4 separate regions of the Homo sapiens genome follow, and all the other regions are linked to region 1. Evidence: promoter capture Hi-C in human tissues and cell types (Jung and others, 2019). All regions are on one chromosome and are shown on one strand. Each heading gives the region's core, a stretch centred on a gene start or on the middle of the fragment in contact. The rest is flanking DNA. Distances are from core to core; before and after follow the strand shown. Region 1 holds the start of CCT8 (chaperonin containing TCP1 subunit 8). Region 2 overlaps GRIK1 (glutamate ionotropic receptor kainate type subunit 1). Region 3 overlaps GRIK1 (glutamate ionotropic receptor kainate type subunit 1). Region 4 overlaps GRIK1 (glutamate ionotropic receptor kainate type subunit 1).

What was found. The method cuts DNA at HindIII sites, captures the fragments that hold promoters and counts their contacts. A contact is called where the count stands out against the background at its distance.
Region 2: a fragment that was not itself captured here is called in contact with the fragment with the promoter of CCT8 in region 1 in 1 of the 25 tissues and cell types used here (lymphoblastoid cells).
Region 3: a fragment that was not itself captured here is called in contact with the fragment with the promoter of CCT8 in region 1 in 2 of the 25 tissues and cell types used here (lymphoblastoid cells and mesenchymal stem cells).
Region 4: a contact is called between a fragment that was not itself captured here and the fragment with the promoter of CCT8 in region 1, in 1 of the 25 tissues and cell types used here (dorsolateral prefrontal cortex).

The regions. Positions count from the first base shown.
Region 1 is chr21:29,071,696-29,075,503 of GRCh38, forward strand. It overlaps CCT8 (chaperonin containing TCP1 subunit 8), which reads right to left and starts at 1,953. Exons shown (of 15, transcript NM_006585.4): 1 at 1,836-1,953. The coding sequence starts at 1,895. RefSeq lists enhancers at 1,025-1,936, 1,389-1,558, 1,937-2,848, 2,009-2,178, 3,725-3,808. The HindIII fragment of the contact is 6,058 bases long and covers 1-3,808 here.
Region 2 is chr21:29,640,761-29,644,265 of GRCh38, forward strand. GRIK1 (glutamate ionotropic receptor kainate type subunit 1) reads right to left here. Exons shown (of 18, transcript NM_001330994.2): 7 at 2,066-2,209. Among named protein-coding and RNA genes, the nearest start is that of GRIK1-AS3, 15 kb to the right of the region's middle. The HindIII fragment of the contact is 4,786 bases long and covers 1-3,505 here.
Region 3 is chr21:29,795,015-29,798,366 of GRCh38, forward strand. The region is part of intron 1 of GRIK1 (glutamate ionotropic receptor kainate type subunit 1); the gene reads right to left. Among named protein-coding and RNA genes, the nearest start is that of GRIK1-AS1, 49 kb to the left of the region's middle. The HindIII fragment of the contact is 4,800 bases long and covers 1-3,352 here.
Region 4 is chr21:29,881,638-29,885,262 of GRCh38, forward strand. The region is part of intron 1 of GRIK1 (glutamate ionotropic receptor kainate type subunit 1); the gene reads right to left. Among named protein-coding and RNA genes, the nearest start is that of GRIK1, 57 kb to the right of the region's middle. The HindIII fragment of the contact is 6,023 bases long and covers 1-3,625 here.

The DNA.
Region 1 (3,808 bases), core at 703-3,202:
GCTTTAAAAGCATCTTCAGCAATAAGAACTGTTATTCCAGCAATAACACTTAAGTCTGAACTCCTGGCTTACACTCTTGCTTCTTCCCCTCACTCCCCATTCTGTGAGAAACTACCATTTGATCAGATCCCCTCATTCCCATACTTAAGACCCTTCAATGGTTTCCCAACCAGCTTAGGATAAAATGCAAATCCCTTTTCAAGGAAACAAGGCCCTACGTATCCCGGCCCTTGTATGGCTCCTCCTCTGAACTTACCATTCTTCCTTTCTTTGGTAAGCTTCAGCCCTACAACCTGTTGTTGTTGTTGTTGTTTTAAAAAAAAAACAGGTCAAAATCATTCCTTCCTCAGGGTCTTTGTACTAGTTAGTCCCTGAGCCTGGCATTTCCCCCTAAGTAAGAGGTCGGGGGAAACAGCCCAGGCTCAGGGGCTTCTCTCACTAAGCACTGAGCTAAGAGTTCTTCCCTAAACGTCTAAGTGTTCTGTCTATTCCTGATCCTTCTTTTACAGACATTTTTACCTCCTGTCATCCTCTACTATAGTGCAGTTTCTTTCATCATTATTTGGAATTCTCCTTTTATTTAATCATTATTTCTGCCTTAGAAGGACATAAACTCTACGACAAATGGGACTTTTGTCTTTCACTGCAGTTCCTTCAGTACCTATTTATTGAAAGAAATAGCTCAGTGTTCTGTAAAAAACTACTAGCACTGGAATGACAAATAATGTTTTGTGATACACGAGTTTTCCAAAACTGTATTAGTGAAAAAAACCCAAATTGGAAGCTATTATCTCAGCCTGATTTTTTCAAGGGAATCAGCCCATATCATTTTCAAAAGATTATTCCACCAACATTTACCTTGAACCCTGACATTTACTTACTATACCGACATTATTTGAAAAGTGCATCCTACAAACATGAACCTAGTTCTATTAAACTGTTAATGCTCCCCGTACCTCGCATAAAACCTTAAATTCAACCACACTGATCTATTTCTTGAATTAACAAAATCTGGAGGACACACAGAGGAATGCAATTTGAATAGCACAAGAGACAAATTTATCAATAGTGCAGTAAGATATTTTTTAAAACTATGCTACCGAACTAACGTTCAAGAAAAGGCCATTAAACAAAAGTGTTATCTGCACCCCTCTATCACTTATCCTGCAGATTACACAGAACTCAAAGACACCACCTCTTGGTCCAATCTCCATAATTTAAAGACGAAGGAAACAAAACCCAAGAAAGTTACATTTTAGATTAAGCCAGCTAACATAAGTTGGGACCGGAACTCATTTGGCTACAACGCATGGCTTCTGTCAACTAAGCTGAAAGCCGTATGTTTCTCACTGGGAAGCAAGCAACCAAGACCCGGCCCTTTTTCCCACTCTCTTCTCTGGATCGGCTAGTTCTCGTTCTTCCCCATCCTACAACTCGCGAGCTATGTGATAATCGACGTCGCAGTTCTCAAGACAATTTCATCTACGTTATTCAATTTCACCCTCACAACCTCCTTTAAGGGTGACGGGCCTTAGCCCCATTTACGGATGGAGGCAAAACGCACGCGCGGCTTCACATCCGTCCACCTTCAAGGTGTACAATGTCGATCGTGCCGCCGATCCCTCGGCCTTCTCCCGGTCGCGGAAGAAGAGAAGTGCCCGCAGGCTCCGGTGGCCGAGCCCTTCCAAAATCACCTCCCTTTCTGGAATCTTCTCTTCCCCCGGCCGCTGAGCCAGGGCAGCACGCTCAGCCCGTTAGTAGGCCCTCCTACTTCGCCGCGGCCGCCGCAGCCCTATGCTGACGCTCCCACCTCATTCCTTTCCTTCAGCCCTTACTTTCGCTCCCTCCTTGAGCATCTGGGCAAAGCCCGGAGCCTTGGGAACGTGAAGCGCCATGGCCAGCCTGCAGGAAGCAGTTCACGCGACCGCTCGGAAGACCGCGGAGGAAGCGAGGAGCACGCACAGCCTTCTGGGAAAGCAGCGTGGGGCCGCCTCACGCTCTTCCTGGCTCTCCAATTAGCCCACCCTTTCCCTGCCGCCAGGTCTGAAGCATCGCGAGAAGAGCAACCTCTGTGGCCAGAACCAAGCTGACGATCCCCGATCGGGTCGATCGATAGGGCGGGCCCAGGGAGCCCCTCGGGTTTCTGGCTCACGCACGCGCAGACAGCCCAGGCCGTGAGAGGTTGCTCCAGTCTGTGCTCTCTGACCGTAGTCAGTAGTCACGGCGTTAGATTTTTGCGGTTTTTGATCTGGAAGCCACACATCCTTAGCTTAATTTCCACGTATCTTCCAGACCCAGCCACCAACGTCAGGGCAGGTGTGCTTTTTTTTTCCCGAGGCAGAGCATCTGCCCCATCCCCCAAAATTGTCTCTAGGCGTCCGCTCTGTGTTGGGCACCATAGGAAGCGCTGGGAATGCGCACGATAATTAAAGTCGTCACTAAGAGTAATGTAGTACACATCAAGTGCTCAAGTGTGCCATATTCTGTGTGATCTGCTTTACATGCAGTATCTCTGTTAATGGTCAGTCTTAAAAATTAATGAATTGTCGGTTAAAATACCATTTAGTTTTCCTTCCATAAAATGGAGACGATACCATTAAAAATTAAAAATTAAATGGTACTGTCTCTATTTTGTAGAAGGGAAACTGAAGTTCACAAACTGTAAATAATTTTCCCAAGATCACAGAGCTAGTAAATATTAAAGCTAGAATTCCTATCTAGATCAGACTTATTGCAAAATGCCGGTTCTTAACCACTATCTATATTCCTCTTTTCTACTTCTTCCTGGGAATATAAATCCCTTTTACTCTTTTAAGATCAGATATAAATACATATTTATTTATCTGATTTATATATATAATATACACATTTTATATAAATATATCTGATTTATATATGAATTTATAGATAAATATAAATCCCTTTGGCTTGGTGGCATGCACCTGTAGTCTCAGCTGCTTGGGAGGCTAAGGTTGGAGGATCTGCTTGAGCCTGGGAGGTTGAGGCAGCAGTGAGCTGAGATCATGCCACTGCACTCCAGCCTGGGCAAGAGTGAGGCCCTGTCTCAAAAAAAAAAAAAAATTGCAAAAATGTAAATGCCACTGATATGGTTTGGATTTTTGCAAAAATGTAAATGCCACTGATATGTTTGAATTGCCTGCCCAAATATGATGTGGAATTATAATCCCCAGCTGTTCTTGTGATAGTGAGTGACTTCTCATAAGACCTGGTTGTTTAAAAGTGTGTGGCACCTCCCCACTCTGTCTCTTCCTCCTCCTCCAGCCTTGTAGGATGTGTCTGCTTCCCCTTCACCTTCCACCTTGATTGTCAGCTTCCTGAGGCTTCCCCAGCCATGCTTCCTGTACCGCCTGTGGAACTGTGAGCCAATTAAACCTCTTTTCTTTATAAATTACCCAGTCTCAGGTAGTTCTTTATAGCGATTCGAGAACGGACTAATACAGCCACCCTTTTCATTCTTGGAAAATAGAGATATTTTAAATAAAAACATACATATTATCATGTGATAGGATTATTATTTTTTAAATAACGTTAAAAATTTATCAGTTTTAATTTCTAATATAGCAAATATTCATACCTATAACCCACATAAACAAAAGACCTTTGGGGAAGTTAATTTTTAAGAGTCTAAAGGTGTTCTGAGACTGATACGTTAGAGAACTACTGTAATGATCAGTCCCGAACAACAGAACAATCCAAGATTTTTCCTGGATTAGCTAAGAAATAAACAAAAGCACATTCCTCTGACTCAGAGATAATATTACTTATAAAAATAGCTAACACAAAATAA
Region 2 (3,505 bases), core at 201-2,700, 570 kb after region 1:
GCTGTTTTCTTGTTAAAGATCAAGGTAATCAGGATGGCGATTCAGGACACAACCATGATCACTGCAGGGAAAAGGAGGTGGTGTGATGTTTTTCTATTAGGCACAGTGTGTCAGAGTTATGTAGCTGTCAGAAAAGGTATTTTGTTTCATGCCTATTTGTGATGTCTTTGTTGTTGTTGTTGTTGTTGCCAGTTTGAAATTCCTGGTATCATCTTCAGTAAACTGAATGAGGCTATTCTTAGTGGTGCCTTCCAATGGCAAGAGAATAGTATTTCAGATGCTTACTAGGTTTCTGAACTATTCTTCACAAGCATTTGCCTAATTCTTTATCCTTACAGTCATGCTGTGGGGTAGATGATACTATACCCATCTTATAGATAAGAAAACTGAGAGACAAGAAGTGTAAGTAACTTGCTGATATGGTTTTGGTGTGTCCCCACCCAAATCTCATCTCGAATTGTAGCTCCCACAATTCCCATGTGTTGTGGGAGGGACCCAGTAGCAGGTAATTGAATCATGGAGGCAAGTCTTCCCATGCTGTTCTCGTGATAGCGAATAAGTCTCATGAAATCTGATGGTTTTATAAATGGGATTTTCCCTGCACAAGTTTTCTCTTGCCTGCCACCATGTAGACATGCCTTTCACTTTCCGCCATGATTGTGAGGCCTCCTCAGCCACGTGGAACTGTGAGTCCATTAAACCTCTTTTTCTTTATAAATTACCCAGTCTCAGGTATGTCTTTATCAGCAGCATGAAAATGGACCAATAGACTTGCCCAGGTTATATTGCTCATCAGTGTTAGTGGAACTAAGATTTAAACCCATGCAGTCACTGCCAGGACTAGGATAAAGTAAGAGAGGTGCTCAGGGTACAAAATTTAAGCGAGAATTTCCTCTTAATCTTGTGCAAGTATAGAATACTCACCCAAGAATGAATGTTTCCTTAAATTGCACCCTCATCCTGGGCTTGCAAGCAACCTAGATTTGTAGCCTAGGTACTTAATCCTTATACATCCCGCCTGCTTTATCCTCACCCTCATGGATCAGAGTCAGCCTTTAGTTGCATTGAACAGACTGAGAGAGGGTGTGCAGGCATGGAAGAGACCAGCAGAGACACGAGTCCAAAGCAGGTGTCTTTCCTTACTCTTAGCTGGGTATTCTCCTGTGCCCTCCCTCTTCTTTACACTATATTTCCATCCTTCTCCAGTACAGAAAGGAAAAAAATACTCTTCACTTGAGAACTAAATGTCTGTATCCCATAGAGAAATATTAGAATAGCATCTCAGAGCATTGCGCATACTCAGGCCTAGCTACTCCAAAGAGCCTTATTTCTTATCATCAAGTCCAGACACACCCTGAGGTTCGTGGTGGAATGGATGATCATGCAGTGTACATATCGATAAGGAGTCACGGGGCTTAGAACAGGGCCTTGTGACAAGGAGTCAAACTGCCTCAGAGAAAAGAAAAGGTGGAGGACAGTCCAGGATCCCAGGACATCAGTGAAGATATCTATCCCTGCAAATACCCCATACTCTCAAAAATCTTTTATGTGCTCAGTAGGTTTTGAATGGGAATAAACTTTTCCAGTTAGCTGATAAATGACAAAATAGTCACTATATAATTAAAGAGGTCCTTCCACTCAGTCCTGTACAGCCTGAGCTTTAGGAGGCCACTGGGATTGTGGACTGATAATGCTGGAACTATCTCTGGTACCCTTCAGTAATGGATCAACTCTCCCCTTGACTCAGTGGGACATGGAAGAAACACCCATATGCCCTTATGGACATGTGTGGAGAGCCAGCAGGAGCTATGGCCATGGCTGGCATGAAGGAGAGTAAGTGTTGGTATCTGGTAGCGTCACTGAACTTCTCAGCATCACAATGGAAAATTCCTGCTAGTCCTTCTGGACAAACTTTTGACACTGAAATCTGAGCAGACTGGTTGATGATGGCTTCCTCTCTCTTAGGGGCATCATGCCAGCAGAACCCTGTGGGGAGGACCATACCAAATGGGCAAGCCCAACAGTGCTCAGAAGGGCCCCTGGGCTGTGAGGGAGCATCACTTGCCTCTTTGATCAGGTTCATAAATCTGGGTCCGAGGCGCCATGGCTTATGTCTATGGCACTGCAGGGAGCTGACGGTCAGCTGGGATGCCCGGTGCGAGGCAATGGCCACCATGTACACAGCATCGTACATCAGAGCCGCTTCAGTCTGTGGAGGAAAACACACACCGCATCTTAAATTCCACTTTTGCTTACCTTCCTTTACTTGCATAATCACTCTCCCTGCTTCCATAGCTCTTATCTGTCTGATCTCAAAGGCCATTTACTCTTCAGCTAGGTAGTTTTCACTCTCCAATAGCTATTTTTCTCCAAAATAATACCTCACACTTTGGAGTAAATTGAAGTTATAACTCTGCTTCGTTTCAAGTTCTTTAAAAAAAAATAAAGCAACCCAGATCAGCCACAAAAGACTTGATTCAAGGAACAAATATTTTGCGAAGTGTCCTCCATGTTAAGCATGGTGTTAAGATCAACTACCTTGAGCTAGAAGCTACTAAAGCTCAAAGTTGCAATATCAGATTTGTTTCTCAGCATTTGTCTATATCTATTTATCTATCTACTTACTGGTTTATATTTGGTAGAAAGAAACTGCTACAATCACTAACAGGTGATTTCCAGATAAGGATACTGGTGTTGGTCACTTTCATTTAGCAGAGTTAAGAAGTTCATAGTCATGGAATGAAACTCAACGGCAAGTTTTGGGAGACCCTCTGAAGGGCAGACAAGTGCAGCTTGCTCAGAACATGCCTCCTCTTGCCAGCATGTGCTTTCTTGAGAGAGATTGAAACAAGTCGGTCATTCCTTTTAGGGGGTTGGGCATCTCGTTCTTCCCTTCCTCATGAAATTCCTCTCACTTGCACAATTTTACATAATACAGCATTTTATAAAATATGCTTCCCTGTGGTTTCCTTTAGGGATAAAATCTTATAATACCCTTGCATTTCACTTGAGGGTTTCATTGCAACTTCAAATACATTAGCTCATTTGAAATTCTCAACAAGTCTTCAAAATAAGCAGAAGAGATAAAGCTATTTATTATGTGAGAAAACTCACTTCGAGGTAGGATATTTGTGGAGGGGCACACACATGCACACACACACACACACATGCACAGCCACACACACACCACATACACAATCATAGTGAGAAATCCCAGAGATGTCACTACTTCTGCTTATTATTTCTGGAGAGTAATAGGGATTATATACATAGCTAATCATTTTCAGAGTTAAACCTAGAATCTAGGTCATAGAATGAAAATTATCATATGGTTTTCCAAAATTGGTTGATTCATTCAACATATACTATGCATTGATTGCTCATGTCTTGGTGGAGGTAGAAAGTGAGGACAGGGGTTACTATATCTCACAATTTTATCAGTCTTTGAGGTCACGGAATACCTCTACTTTGAATCATTATTATTCTGTTCAATCTTTATCATTGT
Region 3 (3,352 bases), core at 637-3,136, 720 kb after region 1:
TGCTTTGCTCTAAATTTTTTTTTTTTTTTTTTTTTTTTTGAGATGGAGTCTCCCTCTGTCACCCAGGCTGGAGTGCAGTGGTGCAATCTTGGCTCACTGCAACCTCTGCCTCCCAGGTTCAAGTGATTGTCCTGCCTCAGCCTCCTCAGTAGCTGGGATTACAGGCACCTGCCACCACGCCCGGCTAATTTTTGTATTTTTAGTAGAGATGGGGTTTCACCATGTTGGCCAGGCTGGTCTTGAATTCTTGACCTCAGGTGTTCCGCCTGCCTTGGCCTCTGAAAATGCTAGGATTACAGGCATGAGCCACCGTGCCCAGTCTGCTCTATTTTAAGATTGGTTAATTATCTATGATTTCTATTTTTCCCTGATCTTTTACACCAGTTCACACCATGTAAAATGACTTCCCTTTGAGCTATCCTTGCTGCTCAGGTTCCTGATCTCCCAGCAGCTGGTCTTCAAGCCTCTCTGGGTAACCTGTGATATCTTCATCAAGTATTCTCATTTTCTCCACACATTAGACCAATATTATTACTCCTTTCTTATCCTATTGCCCCATATTGCTCCACCTGAATTAATGTAAACTTTTTTTATAATAGTTTCTCAGATGCTAATAATTTCAACAGTCTTCAAGACCACAACTAAAGAATTTCCCGAATACTCTTTATCCATGCTACTTGACACTTCCTACACAGAAATAACTTTTGATGACTCTGTGAACAGATAAAGGCTCATTACTTTTAACATTTTCTAATAATTTAATGTATTTCCTCTTTTTTACTTGCTAGCAAGAGAGTTGCATATCATGAATCTTTTCTTTTGATAGTGAGGCTATCAACTTTTTCTTTTTTTCTGCTTGTAAGTCTGTCTAACTTGTCTCATATTTGGACAATGAGCTTCTAATGCTGTCCAGGGTTGTCAAAATCATACTTCTTCAATTCATTTGCCTACTCCATGACTACTGGAAATGGCCACATTTGTACATTATCACCCTTAAGATGGACACAATTTGTTTATGTTTCTAATTCTTAGCTTTGTCTCTTGAAATAAAGGATAGGACTCAGTTATTACATATTCAAAATTTTGTGTGCATTTTGTCATTGCAGGCCTATTTATTAAGAAAGTTTATGAAAATGTGTCCACACATCTACAAGTTTCAGAAATTTGAATTATATCTCATTCTTAGTGGGCTAAATAATGTGGAAGAAATTAATGCTGACAGCAGTCATCATCTCTTAGTCTTCATTCTATCCCCAAGGCTGAGTGTGGTTCTTGGGTCTTTGAAGTCCCTAGTTAATGTCCATTTAATGAATGGAGACCAAAGTAAAATTTGGAGAAAGACCTAAACTGCCCCAATCAATTTAATGATAACTGATACAGGTCAAGTTTATTGTTATATTTTAATTGTTAATTTTCACCATTGAGATTATATAATTTTAATTACAGAAATTATATCTGTATAATATATTATACATTATATATTCTATTGCGTATCATATAAAATATTATGTAAGCTATTTTGTAACTTTAGGCACTCAGCAATTGATCTGATCTCTATTATAAGAAGTGCAGCGTATCTGTTTTTTTCTTGGTTTCCATTATTATACATAGTTAACAAAGCTACATCTAAACCAACATTAAAACAGAATTTGGGATGGGTGAGGTAGCTCACACCTGTAATCCCAGCACTTTGGGAGGCCGAGGTGAGCAGATCACTTGAGGCCAAAAGTTCGAGACCAGCCTGGCCAACATGGTGAAACCCCATCTCTACTAAAAATACAAAAACTAGTTGGGTGTGGTGGTGCATGTCTGTTATCCCAGCTACTCGAGAAGCTGAAGTAGGAGAATCACTTGAACTGGGGAGGAAGAGGTTTCAGTGAGCTGAGATCACACCACTGCCCTCCAGCCTGGGTGACAGAGGGAGACTCTGTCTCAAAAGCAAACAAACAAACAAACAACAGAAAAAAAAAAAAGAAAAACCCACAGAATTTAGTTGGTTTCTAATGCGTTAGTACAAAAGTAAACATTTTAAATAGCCATAGCAGAAGGTGAAACTTTCCTATTATCAGGAAATCAGGTAGCGGCTATCAAGCTGCCAGCAAGACAGTGTCCTTACCTGCAAAAAAAAGAGGAATGAAGCTCAGAGATACACTGACCTTTTGTACTATGTGGGGAAAGGCTGCAATCATTTTCTTAAGCCTGTGTGAAAAATGTTTCTGGTATACTTTATGTCTTTGTGCATGGGAGGAAGGTCTGAGGAAGCCACGCAGAAAGCATCAGTGGCCAGAGAATAATTGCTGCCAATCAGGCCTTTCTCACCCACGGTTCTGAGATGGAGGAGTTGTCATGTGTACAAATGAATTCCTGATGTGACAGGCTGCCATGAACAGTGATATTTGGCTTCTGTTTCTAGTTGATTATACTACAAATCTATTCCTGGAGTGGAGAGATGTAGAGACATTGAAGCCAATGTATACGGGGAAGCTGTGTATTATATATGCACCCTCTCAGTTTTCACCCATTCACAAATTCCTGCCTGGACAAAATAATTCCATCACACAGCCTCGTAATTTATTTATAGTTAATCTATGACATATATGTAATTAGTTGCATTTGTCAATATAATAAAAATGTTGAATTTGCAAGGATAGTAGGCAAAATTCTTCACTAATTTTTGATCACCTTGAAAAGAACAGTTCCATTTAAAAGTTGTAGAGTTCTACATGAAGAGCAACACAATGCCTGAGCTTGTCATTTTTCTTTAACAATGTCCCGCCTAGATTTCTTTTATCAAAAAAGTACAACGTTTTCTCCCACTAGATGAGGTTTCCTCCTGCAATGCCCAATCATCCCTTTATTATTGCCTCCTCTGAGTAGATACTGCATCCTACACTCTTCATGAAATTCAGCTCTTTCTTCAGTGATGAAAAACAAATAAAGTCTGTTTTTCAGTTTGTTGGTTTTTAGTCCCAATGAGTATGTTTTCTTCTTTTGTTTTGTACTCATATGTAAGTCCCCAGAGTACTTCTAAAACAAATTATAGAGAATAGGTGGCATCTACTCAACATGATGAGTCCTGAATACCGACTGGAAGAAATTGACTTTATTTATTAAAGATCCTTTCTATCTACTGTCTTTTATAATATACTTGGCTGTCTGTCTTGCATTGATCCAACCTGATAATAAGCTTTATTAGGTCTATCCTCTGAACATCCAAGGATACTGCTGCTAAAAATTCTTAGGCGAATGGGAAGTAATGACTTACCAGATTCTCAATTTAGGTTTTATTGGTGACCTCACTGAAAAAGCTAACAATAGGATGGATAAAATTTAACTCTACTACGTACTCCAG
Region 4 (3,625 bases), core at 1,000-3,499, 810 kb after region 1:
GGTTGACTGGTTAATAGAGGTGAAATTGGCATATGAACAAGATTCTTCAATTCCCTGTCCCTTTCTTCTTCTACTGCACCATGACTCCTTTGGCTAGAGTGGGAACTCAGTACTCTTACATGTGTTGGAATCATCCCTTGATATAAAAGACTTTTTATATTTACTATCTTTGGCAGTAAAGTGTGCTCCACAATGGTATTCAAAATACTATGTAATATTTAATTTGTAAAAAATAAAAGACAATCTTTTACAATTGACACATTTCCATTTTCTCCCAACAACCATCCATTTGTTTGCTTTTTCTATTCACTATGCTCGGAGGCAGGAATTCAAAAATTAATAAAACATACTCCTTGGCATCATGGGATTCGTAGAACAGAAAGGAGAACAGATGGTTGGGGTAAAGGTATCTGAGGCAAAGCCTTCACAGATCAGAACAGAGACAAATTAAACAAACAAACAAACAACAGTAACAATAAATAATGACATCAAAAAAAGGCCATAACAGGCATTTGTTGTCCGTTTAGGAAGAGATGGGACTTTTGGGTGGTTTTACTGTTTGGAAAATGAGTTTTGTGGTTTCATTTCTATCCTCCACATTCCATTAATTCCATGGTTCCCTGATGACTACCATATTATTCCTAGGTACCCCTTTTTTGACTTTTAAAAGAGTTTGGCCCATACTTAATGTATTTTTAAACGTTTTAACATTTACTAATATAGAACCTTCTATTGCCTATTTCCTTCTGGTTTATTCCCTTTCCTTCTGTCATTGAAGAAATGGTTCTAGTGGTAGAAATACTCCACGATTGAGAAGAATGTGGGAAGAAAGGAGGGCTGGTGGGTAAGAATTGCTCATGATGTCTCCCTCTGAATTCTGTGCTCTCACAATGACACTCCAATGTGTGGTTTGACGCCTGGAAGAAGCAGCTCATGATGGGGAAGAATCCAAAGCAATGTAGTTGGAATATCATGCGCAAAGAACTTACAAAGGGAAAAAGCTTATCAAATTCACAGAACCGAAATGAGGGTCCTTGGGAACAGAGAATTATCTCACATGCATATTCCCTGGCCTAGGTAAATAAGTGCTAGGCAAAAGTGCATGAGTAATTGAATGAGCCTGGAAAGTTTGTTTCTATTTCTCCACACATGAAATTCTTGTTTATCCTTTAAGTCTTAACTGAACATTGGCCTCCTCCATGAAGCATTCTCTATCTACCACGATCTATACAGAGCTCTCTTTTCCTTATTTATTTTTATACTAATAACCAGGGGCTGCAACTTGCTTTACTTTCTTGATGTCTAATTACTTTTTCTTTCCAACCAGCCCCCAAGGTCCTTGAAACCAGAAGTCCAGCTTTAACCTTAGTCATTACCTCCTTCAGGCTTTAACATAGTTCTGTGTTCATGGAATCGTGGCTTGTCTGTTGCTAATACCTGAGGGACTCAATCCAATACTAATTCAACAATGTCATGCTCATCTGGAAGCAGTATTTAATATATTTGGAAGGTAACTTAACCCATTTAGTGGTTTTCAGATATCGGGAAGTAGGAAAATGTATTTGTATATTCTACAAAATATTTCTAGTTATCTAACTTTCAGCAACCATTTAAATTTACTTTATAAACTCTTGTGGTTCTATGAAACAGTATTAGAACTGATAATAAGTGCAATAGAGGCTGGTGAGTCAAATAAAAATAATGGCTTCACATTTGACCTTTAGCAAGTAAAGAATTCTCAAGTATATAGATTTGCAATGGTTTTACTTCATTAAGTCACTCAGCGAGACTGACTATTGGTTGTTTCAGGAAAGAAAGTCATAACTAACAAGCAGAGAGTTCTTAATATCAGCCTCTGAGGTCCCCTGTTTGCCACAAAGCAAGTGGTGCACATTTTCCTTCCAAATAGAAAAAATAAAAATGAAATATAAAAGCTTATTAGACCTTCCAAATCAGGATCTTCTGTAGACACACTCAAGACACCCAGGAAGGCATCAGTGTTATCAGGTATCAGGTTATAAAGAAATCAGACTATAATCCTGTGACATTCTGAATGGGAATGGAAAGACTGGTTTACAATGATAGTTTAAAATTTAAAAATATTTATGTGTTTTTTCTCAAAGTCCACTTTCTTTTTTTTCTCATTGCAAGAAAATTAGAACAGACACATTTCAAAATCTCCCAGCACAGAATAGCTATATTCTGCAGTGAATACCAGTGAAACCACAGAATAATTAGAAAGAAAATACCTAAGAGAAAACCAATCAAAGAAAACCCGACAGGCTTCAACAGGTTTCCTTCAGGCCTGAGATATTGAAGTCCTTTTCCACTCTGACTCTTCCTAAAAAGAAGGGGGGGATGCTTTATGTAATCTATTGATAAGAAAGGAGGTAGACAGAAATCTTGACTCCCATGTGCTGCTCCATTTTATACAGGGAAACACATTGTCTACTGTTAAATAATTTTTCTTTGTAGTATGGTTCTGTTACCTGCCCATATCACTGTTCGATAAGCTGCTATGAGCAAACATATTATATTTAATGGAAGTTGAAAGAACAGGCAGAGGGTTAAGTTTTCCAACATGTATGGTTCACAAAGCCAGATGCCAAGATATGGTCTAATCTTCTAAATATATACATTTGTCCATTATAAATCCTTTTTCCAGAGTAATTTTTAAAACAAATCTCATTTTACTATCCTATCGTAAAATGTTTTTGAATTAACCAGAGTCTACTTACCATTTCTCTAAGTATGGTCAAGAGGAAGAACAGGTTGGTTGTATTTTTTTCCATATGAGGACTTTCGTCCCTCTACTCCCACCCCCGACTCTTTGTATTATGGACAGGGAAACAGAAAGGAAATTACTAAGTCAGGGAGAGAGTTACTTGATGGCCATGTTCATCTCTCAGTTTGCCATTTGATGACGTAAAACATAAGAAAACATGAAAGTGGGTGCCAATGTTTCTAACCTAACAGATAAAGTTTGTGGATTTCTGAGCTACATTGCATTACTAGTAATAACTGAAAACATAGATTATCAGCTATTGTGCTACATGCTTTACTTAAAGTAGTTATTATCTCCACCTTCAAGACGAGACAACGGAGATTTAGAAATTAAGTAACTTGACTAGTTAAAACTGACACTAAACCTCTTAATTTTAATCTCTCACTATAGCTACATGCATAAAGTTATGATTACTTAATTGCTGGAAGGGAATCTTCAACAGACATCCAGTGTTCACCCACAGAGCTATCCAGAAAAAGTTCCCAAATCACACAGATACTGGTTCACTTGGTGACGATGTTGCTCAAAACTGTTCCATAAAAGATTCTAATCCCAAATGAAACATTTCAATATTATTTTCATTATTGGAAAAATCTCCATATTTTAGGTCTCCTTGAGTAAATGAGAATGAGCTGCATTTTAAAAACTACTTTTTAATGGACACATTGTAATTATGCATATTTATTGAGCAAAAATGTGATAATGTGATGTTTCAATACATACATATATTGTATAATGATCAAATCAGGGTATTTATTGTGTTGACCGTGGATTTGCTTTCATGAATGTTCATATGTATGTCAGAGTTTCATGTCAGGGCAATGGACGTTGTATGGTTAA